Regions from separate parts of the Homo sapiens genome. Here region 1 is linked to region 2. The links are contacts of gene promoters, found by promoter capture Hi-C in human tissues and cell types (Jung and others, 2019). All regions are on one chromosome and are shown on one strand. Each heading gives the region's core, a stretch centred on a gene start or on the middle of the fragment in contact. The rest is flanking DNA. Distances are from core to core; before and after follow the strand shown. Region 1 overlaps FRMPD1 (FERM and PDZ domain containing 1). Region 2 holds the start of DCAF10 (DDB1 and CUL4 associated factor 10).

Evidence for each region. Contacts are between HindIII fragments. The study calls those that stand out against the background at their distance.
Region 1: a fragment that was not itself captured here is called in contact with the fragment with the promoter of DCAF10 in region 2 in 2 of the 25 tissues and cell types used here (bladder and pancreas).

What each region holds. Positions count from the first base shown.
Region 1 is chr9:37,709,330-37,713,684 of GRCh38, reverse strand. FRMPD1 (FERM and PDZ domain containing 1) reads right to left here. Exons shown (of 16, transcript NM_014907.3): 5 at 2,290-2,335. Among named protein-coding and RNA genes, the nearest start is that of TRMT10B, 42 kb to the left of the region's middle. The HindIII fragment of the contact is 9,572 bases long and covers 1-4,355 here.
Region 2 is chr9:37,797,873-37,802,599 of GRCh38, reverse strand. DCAF10 (DDB1 and CUL4 associated factor 10) reads right to left here and starts at 1,803. Exons shown (of 7, transcript NM_024345.5): 1 at 1,195-1,803. The coding sequence starts at 1,733. LOC105376037 (a long non-coding RNA gene) reads left to right here and starts at 1,709. Exons shown (of 3, transcript XR_929599.3): 1 at 1,709-1,933; 2 at 3,872-3,969. RefSeq lists enhancers at 672-721, 1,673-2,274 and silencers at 1,032-1,091, 1,312-1,831. The HindIII fragment of the contact is 16,578 bases long and covers 1-4,727 here.

The DNA of each region.
Region 1 (4,355 bases), core at 76-2,575, 88 kb after region 2:
ACACACACACACTATATATAGTTATATATAAATGGTCATATATATATAGGTCTCTCTATATATATGGTCTCTCTCTCTCTCTCTACATATATATATATATACGGTCTCACCTTGTCACCCAGGCTGGAGTGCAGTGGTGCGATCTCAGCTCACTGCAGCCTCGACTTCCTGGGCTCAAGCGATTCTCTCACCTAAGCCCCTGCCAGCTATAATCATTTTGTTTTTGTTTTTGTGTTTGTAGAGATGGGATTTTGCCATGTTGCCCAGGCTGGTCTTGAACTCCTCAGCTCAAGCTATCCGCCACCCTCAGCCTCCCAAAATGCTGGGATTACAGGCATGAGCCACTGCACCCAGCCTCACATACTATGTTCCTATACTAGCATCTACTCTTGAACTTTTTATCTGATTACATTGACATGTTCAACATTTCACCAATATCATACTGTTTTAATAATTGTAGCTTTGTTCGTTTTTAAACCTGCCTATCAAGGCCATCCTCATTATCCTTTTTAAAAAAGGTTTTCTTGAGATAAGTCTCACTTTGATATACTTTGTTAAATCCAAATGAAAGTCCCGTAAGAGTTTGCTTGAATTTGTATTAAGTATATATATTAATATAATAACTGATATATTAATAATACTTAGTCTCCCCATCAAGGAACATAGTATGTATCTCCTTTTATGTTATTTTTTTATATATGTCAGTAATAGTCTAGTTTCCTCCACATGAGACTCCCATATCTCTTTCCCTTAAGGTTTTTGTATTTTATATAACTTTTGTCTTTAAAGAAATAGCTTTTGGACTTAACAACATTACAATCTTTCTGTTTTCCAGAGGATCATTTATATTTTAATTTTTATTACTTTATTCTGCTTTATGTTTGTTTTATTAATCTTTTCTTCTAACTTCTTGCACTGAATATTTAATTGATTTACTTCTGTATTAAATGATAAAAACACTCAAGGCCATGAATTTTACTCTGAGTGTAGCTTCAACTGCACATAATTACTTTTAAGAAGTACAGTTCTGGCCTGGCATGGTGGATGACGCCTGTAATCCCAGCACTTTGGGAAGCCGAGGCAGGTGGATCACCTGAGGTCAGGAGTTCAAGACCAGCCTGGCCAATGTGGCGAAACCCTGTCTCTACTAAAAATACAAAAATTAGCTCAGCATGGTGGTGGGTGCTTGTAATCCCAGCTACTTGGGAAGTTGAGGCAGGAGAATCACTTGAACCCAGGAGGTGGCGGTTGCAGTGAACTGAGATCACGCCATTGCACTCCAGTCTGCACGACGGGAGTGAGACTCCATCTCAAGAAAAAATAAAAGAAGTACAGTTTTAATTTTCAATTATTTTCTAAATAGTCTATAATGATAGTTTTTCTTTTTCTATTTGACTCAATCTTTACTTAGGAAATTACATTTTTATTTCCAAATGGCTGAATGGTTTTTAATTGAATTTTTAATAGTTATTAGCTTCTATTTTATTATATTCGGAAAAAGGGACCTGCACAGTTTTTCATTTGGGGAATTTATTGAGTTTTCTTGGTAGCCTGGTATGTGGTCAATTAAATTAGATTATTAAGTACATTATTCAAATTCTCTATGCCCCTCTTTTTTATTTTGGTCTATTTGTGGCCAAGGCTAAGAAGTACTATTAAAATTTCTCACAATGAAAATTTTCTATCAACTTTTGAAAAACTATCTCCTTAGTAGTTTTTCCTTTGAAAATTTGATTATATACTTTCCCTAAATAATACATAAGGAGCTCCTCGGCCTGTGGTGGTTTAGGATTGCCGCTTCCTCCCTGTGCATCATCTATGCCACACCTTGCCGTGTGGTGAGCCTCAGAGCTGATAAAATACTTTCATATCCAACATCTCATTTGGTCCTTCTAACAACCCATTAAACAGACAAGGCAGTTATTGTCATGACTATTTTACAAAAGTGAAAACTGAAACTAAATGATTTTCCCAAAGTCATACCACTCAAACCTGTCTTGAAACTCCAGTTTGGTGCCCTTACCATCATCCTACTGTGCATAGCCATAGGTCCATCTCCTCAGCTGGACCATAAATTCTTGAGGCCTTCACCATATCTGTTTCCTCCACAGTACTTGCATGGAGGAGGTCTTCAGATAACATGGACTGACTGGCCACCCACTGCCGGGCAGCTGTCACCCTCCACCCTTTGCCTTCCCCGCTTACTTTATGAGGGATATCCTCTGGGGGAACAGGGTCTTAGGGCCAAGAATGGTGAAACTAACACACAGGACATAGAAAGAGATTTACCGACGTGCAGCGAACAACTGTGATTGAAAGAGAATCTTCTGCTTCCCTGAAAAAAGAAAGAATAAAGACAAAAACATTTAGTCGTTCTGCGTGATGGATGCACGTGCATGCATACATGTGTGAGCATGTGTGTTAGGGTCAAAAAGACTGGCAGAATGAGTATAAAGCAGCCTCCTTTGCCTTAGCTTTTTTGGCTCAGCAAAACTGAGAAAGATATTGGGAAATGCAGCAACCTGCAAAGGAACTTAAGCTGACCCAGAGAGCTCCTCCCACCTGGAGGGAATTTTCGTAAGTTCACCTCTACCATCTAGTCTATATCTACAGCCACAACATTAATTAAGGCACTTAGCCTTAATTTAGTCCTATACAATGAAGAACTCATCCAGTGACAACCAGCTAGATTTATGTCCCCCAATTTTTTTTTTTTTTTTTTTTTGTGAGACAGAGTCTTGCCCTGTTGCCCAGGCTGGAATGCAATGGCGCAATCTTGGCTTGCTGCAACCTCCGCCTCCCGGGTTCAAAGAATTCTCCTGCCTCAGCCTCCCGAGTAGCTGGGACTACAGGCACCCGCCACCACACCCAGCTAATTTTTTAGTAGAGATGGGATTTCACCATGTTGGTCAGGCTGGTCTCAAACTCCTGACCTGGTGATCTGCCCACCTCGGCCTCCCAAAGTGCTGGGATTACAGGTGTGAGCCACCGTGCCCAACCCAAAAAAATTTTTTAGGAGAAAATATGGCAATAACACAGATAACTCAGGTTGCTATTTCATAAAACTCAGGCTAAACATTTCACTAAACAGAATGAATGTCTGTGGATAACGTTTATCAGATAAAAGCCAAAGAGTTTATGGTGTTTGGGCACACAAAGTCGGTGTAATGAGCCCAATCATATAATCAAGATAGTAGACATCTTTGTCTTGCATTATCTCTTAGATTTCAAAAGTGATCAAATCAAGCAGATAACTGCTTGACCTCTACTTTATATTAGCGGCCAGAACAGAGAAAATCGATCATATTTTCCTTTCTCTTTGCCACTGCTACCATGGAGAAGCAGTTGGCAAAATAATTTCATTTGACTTCTTGCAATATGAACATTTAGGCCAATTGCTGCTGGTGTGTTATTTCCTCAAAAGGATAAACTCAACCCAAGATGTCTAAGTGTCTAGGGACTTCCTCTTTTCCATTTTAAATGAGAACAGGCCTTTTCTGAGATAAATCACAATAAACCCAAATGCAAGTGCTCTAAAAGGACATACTGGCCTCATAGCTATTTGGAGGAATTTGAGATGTTTTCTTGGCATTGTTGTTGTATCTTTTTGTTTTGCTTTGTGTTTTACCTTTTACACGTGACACTGAATAATACATGCTGGTTTTAGACACTGGGAACTAAGCTTAAAAAAAGTAAGGCGTCCTGGGATTCTCACATGCAAAAGACAGCAGAGGGTACAGATGCACAGCACACCTCAAGTCATGCATCCCTGCTCAGAAGCCTTCAACTGCTCGCCCTTCCAGGGGGAGAATCACACTGAAACATGCTGTGCTGGCATTCAAGACCTTCTATCATCTGGACTTCACTTCCTAGAACTTTTCTGCAGGCAAACTGAACTGCTCAGCAGCCCCTACTTCCCACCCAGTTGCTTCTGTTTACCTCTTTGCCTGAATCACCCTTCACCTCCATCTTTTGGACCAAATTTTACCCAGCATTAAAGACACAACTGAAATATTTCTGGGCCCTTCTCTGTTTTGTCAGCCTACAACTTCTGCCCAAGTTGGAGGACTCTCCAGCATTTACAGTGTATTTCCTTGGCTTTTCTTTTCTTTTTCTTTCTCTCTTTTTTTGAGATGGAGTCTTGTTCTGTCACCCAGGCTGGAGTGCAGTGGTACAATCGTGGCCCATTGCAACCTCTGCCTCCCGGGTTCAAGCGATTCTCCTGCCTCAGCCACCCGAGTAGCTGGGATGGGAAGACCACTTGAGCCCAAGAGTTTGAGACCAGCCTAGGCAACACAGCAAGTCCCCATCTCAAAAAAAAAGGGAAAAAAAAACAATTAATACCACCCCAAAGC
Region 2 (4,727 bases), core at 554-3,053:
CAACTTCAGGTCTTTCTTCAGTAAAATTTTTTGCTTTGTAAACCTATTTTTTTTCACCTCCTGTAACATGATATGCTGCCCTTCTACGACCTTTGACATACCAATCATCTCCATCTGAAATACTTCTATCCCTTTCCCAACCCTATCTTGACTAATTTATTTCGTACTCATTTTTATTTTCATTTAGGTGCCACTTCCTCAGGGAATCCGTGAACACAGTGTCCATAACAGATTCCTTCAAGACTTTATCTCAATTAACAAATATATTTTATGCATTATTTAGTAAGGCTATCTACTATCTAGTTGAACCATTAAGTCCCAGGCTCAATGAAAACAGTGCCATTAGCTGGTTTTGCTCAGCATGGTTACTCCTGCATTTGGAACATAGCAAGTGCTCAACAAATATACGCCGAATGAGAGAATGAATGAATGAACAACTGAGTAAACAACTAGCAACCGAGAGGCTTGGTGGGGTAAGAATTACATTAACTATGTCACCTCATGGTGGAACTGTGCACATTTTTTCTTTTGATGGCGGACTTGTGTACTGACAAGACAAAGTTTTAAATAGATACGATTTTGGAAAGTTCCCTTTAAAGCAAAGCCATACAATAAATATTTAATCAGCCAAGAAAAAGGCTGTAGTCTAGCCTGGGGACTTCACAAATGACCCAAATCATGAGAGCCACGTCTCTACAGTGTCTTAGTACTGTATCTTCCTTGAGCAAAGGAACGCACTTGCCCCATCATGGCAAGTTCAGGTACAGAGTGCAAGGAATCTACAGCTTTCCTACCCCGACACAGGTTTAGGTAGGAAAACGCGAGCCTAGGATGATGGGGAGAAAGCGGGCATTTATTCAAAATGTATTTACTGAGCACCTACTGTGTACCAGAAAGCCCTAGTTGTGGGCTGGCTCTGACAGGTCCGCTGTGTAGCTTCGGGCATTTCTCCTTCACAGAGCCCAAGTCCTGAAGGCGAGCAAGTGGGGCCCCGCCTGCCTGCCTCAAAAAGCTGGGCTGGGGATTCCAAGGGCGAGAATGCGCTTCAGAAAGTGCCAGGAGGCACGAAGGCCAGCGGCCCCAAACGGCCTCGCTAACCTCGGCCCGGGCGCGGGGAGCGAGCCCAGGACGGCCGTCCGCTGGCAGCAGAGCCGGGCGGAGGCGGGCGCCCGCCCTCCGAGGGGCCGCGCTTACCCGTCGGGCGAGTACTCGAGGTTGAAGACGGCGCCGTGGGTGCGGGTGCTGAGGTACACCGAGTCCGCGGGGTGGATGGAACCGTAGAGGCTAGTCATGGTGCGAAAATTGTCCCGCGCCGGGTCCACGAACAGCCCGCGGCCCAGGCTGCGCTCTTTCAGCCACCCGAACAGCCTAGCGCCAGGGCCGCCCAGGCCCGCGCCGAGGCCGTGTCGGCCCCGGCTCTTGGCCCTGCAGTCTGGCCCGGGCCGCCGGCACGGAGGGGAGGGAGGTGACGGCTCTCCCGGGGCGGAGGCAGTTGAGGACTCCGGAGCTCCAGGCAGCCCTAGCTCTCCGGAGCGCGGGGCCGGGGACAGCGATGGGGCGCCGGGGCGGCGAGGGCTTCGGGCGGGTGGAGGGGGATGGGTCGCATCAGCCCCGGGATGTAGTGGCGAGGGCGGCCCGGTGGCTGCTGCCTGCCCCTCGTGGGGCGTCGGCTCCTCAGCCCCGGCTCCGGCCGATCCGTCCCCTCCAGGGCTATGGGGCCCAAAGGGAAACATGATCAACGCCCCCGCCCCCCGCTCCGGGCCACTGCCCCGCCGGCCGACACCTCAGTGCCCCTGTTCAGCTGCCACTTCCGGCGTGCAGCGGCCTAACCCCACCGGCTGGAAACCCGCGCCGCCCCTCGGCCACCGTCCGCCGGGGACCGGGAAAGCTGAGACACCGCCGGGTTTGGGGCGCCGCAGTCCCGGGAACGGAGGTAGGGAGCGAGTAGTTACCTGTGTGAGCGACTGAGCATCTGGGCACCTGATCTGGGTGGCAGAGTCGGTCTGTAGTTGTCAGTGACCGGTGGCCGCGTGCCTGGGGATGAGTGGCCTGACCAGTCAGTCCTGTGAGGCTGAGTATGTACTGGTGTCTCCACTTTACACTGGGATCAGCGAGGGATTAAGAATTAGTGCATTACGTGCAGGCCACACACAATAGGTGACATGCCACTCTTTTTTTTTTTTTTTTTTTCCGAGATGGAGTCTCGCGCTGTCGCCCAGGCTGGAGTGCAGTGGCGCGATCTCGGCTCACTGCAACCTCCGTCTCCCGGGTTCAAGCAATTCTCTGCCCCAGCCTCCCGAGCAGCTGGGATTACAGGCGCCCACCACCACGCCCGGCTAATTTTTTGTATTTTTTAGTAGAGATAGGGTTTCACCATCTTGGCCTGGCTGGTCTTGAACCTCGTGATCCACCCGCCTCGGCCTCCCGAAGTGCTGGGATTACAGGCATGAGCCACCGCGCCTGGCCAGCATGCCCAACTCTTAAAGGCACAACAAGTTCAGGGTGACCACAGGCAGCTTCTTCCAAAACCTATTTGTCACAAGGCAAAGGAGAGACTGAGAGGAAACAGGTTTGGATGTGCTACCCAAGGAATGGCTGAGATAGCCAGTCTGTGTATCTGGGCTTAAATGAAAGATGGCAAATAGGTGATAGTTACTTTTCTGGGTCAACTTGACTGGGCTAACAGATGCCCAGATAGCCTGGAAAACCATTATTTCTGTGTGTGCCTGTGAGGGTGTTTCCAGGACAGATTAGCATTTGAATCAATAGAAGATCTGCCCTCACCATTGTGGACAGGCATCATCCTATTCATTAAAGACTGAAAAGGAACAAAAAGGCAGAAGGGTGATTTAACTTTCTCTTAAGTTGGTACATCCATCTCCTGCCCTTAGACATCAAAACTCGGTTCTGCGGGCTTTGGACTTGGGGACTCATCGTCAGTTTTCAGGCCTTCAGTCTTGGACCGGGAGTTATACCATTAGCTCCTCTGATTCTCACACCTTCAGACTCAGACTGAATTACACCACCAGATTTCCTGGTTCTCCAGCTTGCAGACTGCAGATCATGGGACTCCTCTACAATGATATGAACCAATTCCCATATTAAATGTTCTCTTATATCTATATCTCCTATTGGTTCTACTTCTCTGGAGACCCCCTGGATGGGTCCAATCTACTGTAGCAGCCTACTTGCCTGGCATTCACACTCTTCATGTGTATGCCAGCACGTATATTCTACTGAACCCATCCTAGAAGTCCTAGGCTGTCGAATTTTGTAGCTGTTACTTAGCTTTCCTTGCCTACTAGCCGGGGTAGGACAACTATTTGAGTAACCAGGCTATAGATTAGCCACTGGTCCATGAGGCTGCCAGACCAAAAGTCTTTGCCCATACAGACTCATGCTCTTGGGAATTTGAATTGGGAAATCAGAAGTGAGGCAGTTGGCCATGATGGTTGGGATTGAAAAGTCATAAGGCAGAGTGAGGCCGCTGGAGTCCTGAGCAAACCAAAGGAGTAAGAGAAATCATGAGAAAGCAGCAGCCATGAGAGAACAGACTTGGGATAGACGGTGAGAAAGAAAGTTGATGGTAGGAGGAGATACAGATACATAAAAAGAGACAGACTCAGAACAGGTTAGACTTGTTCTTGGCAGAGTCCCCCTAGGGTCTTCCTGCAGAGTCCCTTGAGGTACCAGAATGATGGCTGCTCAATTTCAGTTTCAGTTTCCTGTGGGATGATCACTTGATTTCACAATACCTGAACCAGGACTTATGCACTGACAAAAAGAATCAAGGGCCAGACACAGTGGCTCACACCTGTAATCTCAGTGCTTTGGGAGGCCAAGGTAGGAGGATCTTTTTTTTTTTTTTCAGGGTCTCACTCTGTTGACCAGGATGGAGTACAGTAATACAGTCATGGCTCACTGCAGCCTCAACCTCCCAAGCTCAAGCAGCAGGAAGATCTTTTGAGGGTAAGGAGTTTGAGACCAGCCTGGGCAACATCATGAAACTCTGTCTCTCTATGAAAAATAACAAAATCATTCCGGTGTGGTGATGCATGCTTGTAGTCCTAGCTGCTCGGAAGGCTGAGCCAGGAGGATCCCTTGAGCCCAGGAGTTCAAGGTTACAGTGAGCTGTGATCACCCTGCACTTCAGCCTGTTGCACTTCAGCCTGAGCAACAGAGTGAGACCCCATCTCAAAAATTAAAAAAAAGAATTGGCACTTTGGGAGGCCGAGGCGGGTGGATCATGAGGTCAGGAGATCGAGACCATCCTGGCTAACAAGGTGAAACCCCGTCTCTACTAAAAATACAAAAAATTAGCCGGGCGCGGTGGCGGGCGCCTGTAGTCCCAGCTACTCTGGAGGCTGAGGCAGGAGAATGGCGTGAACCCGGGAAGCGGAGCTTGCAGTGAGCCGAGATTGCGCCACTGCAGTCCGCAGTCCGGCCTGGGCGACAGAGCGAGACTCCGTCTCAAAAAAAAAAAAAAAAAAAAAAAAAAAAAAAAAGAATTGGAATGACAACCAAGAAAACAAATGTGTCCTTTCAACCAGGGAGCCTTCTGTAGCCCAAAGAAAACAATGTACTCAAGGAGTAAAGTGATCCTATCATATAAGCTTATTGAAAAATAAAAAGCAAACATTCATATAATGTTTAGTGTATGCCTAATATTATGCTGAGTAAAGTGATCCTATCATATAAGCTTATTGAAAAATAAAAAGCAAATGTTC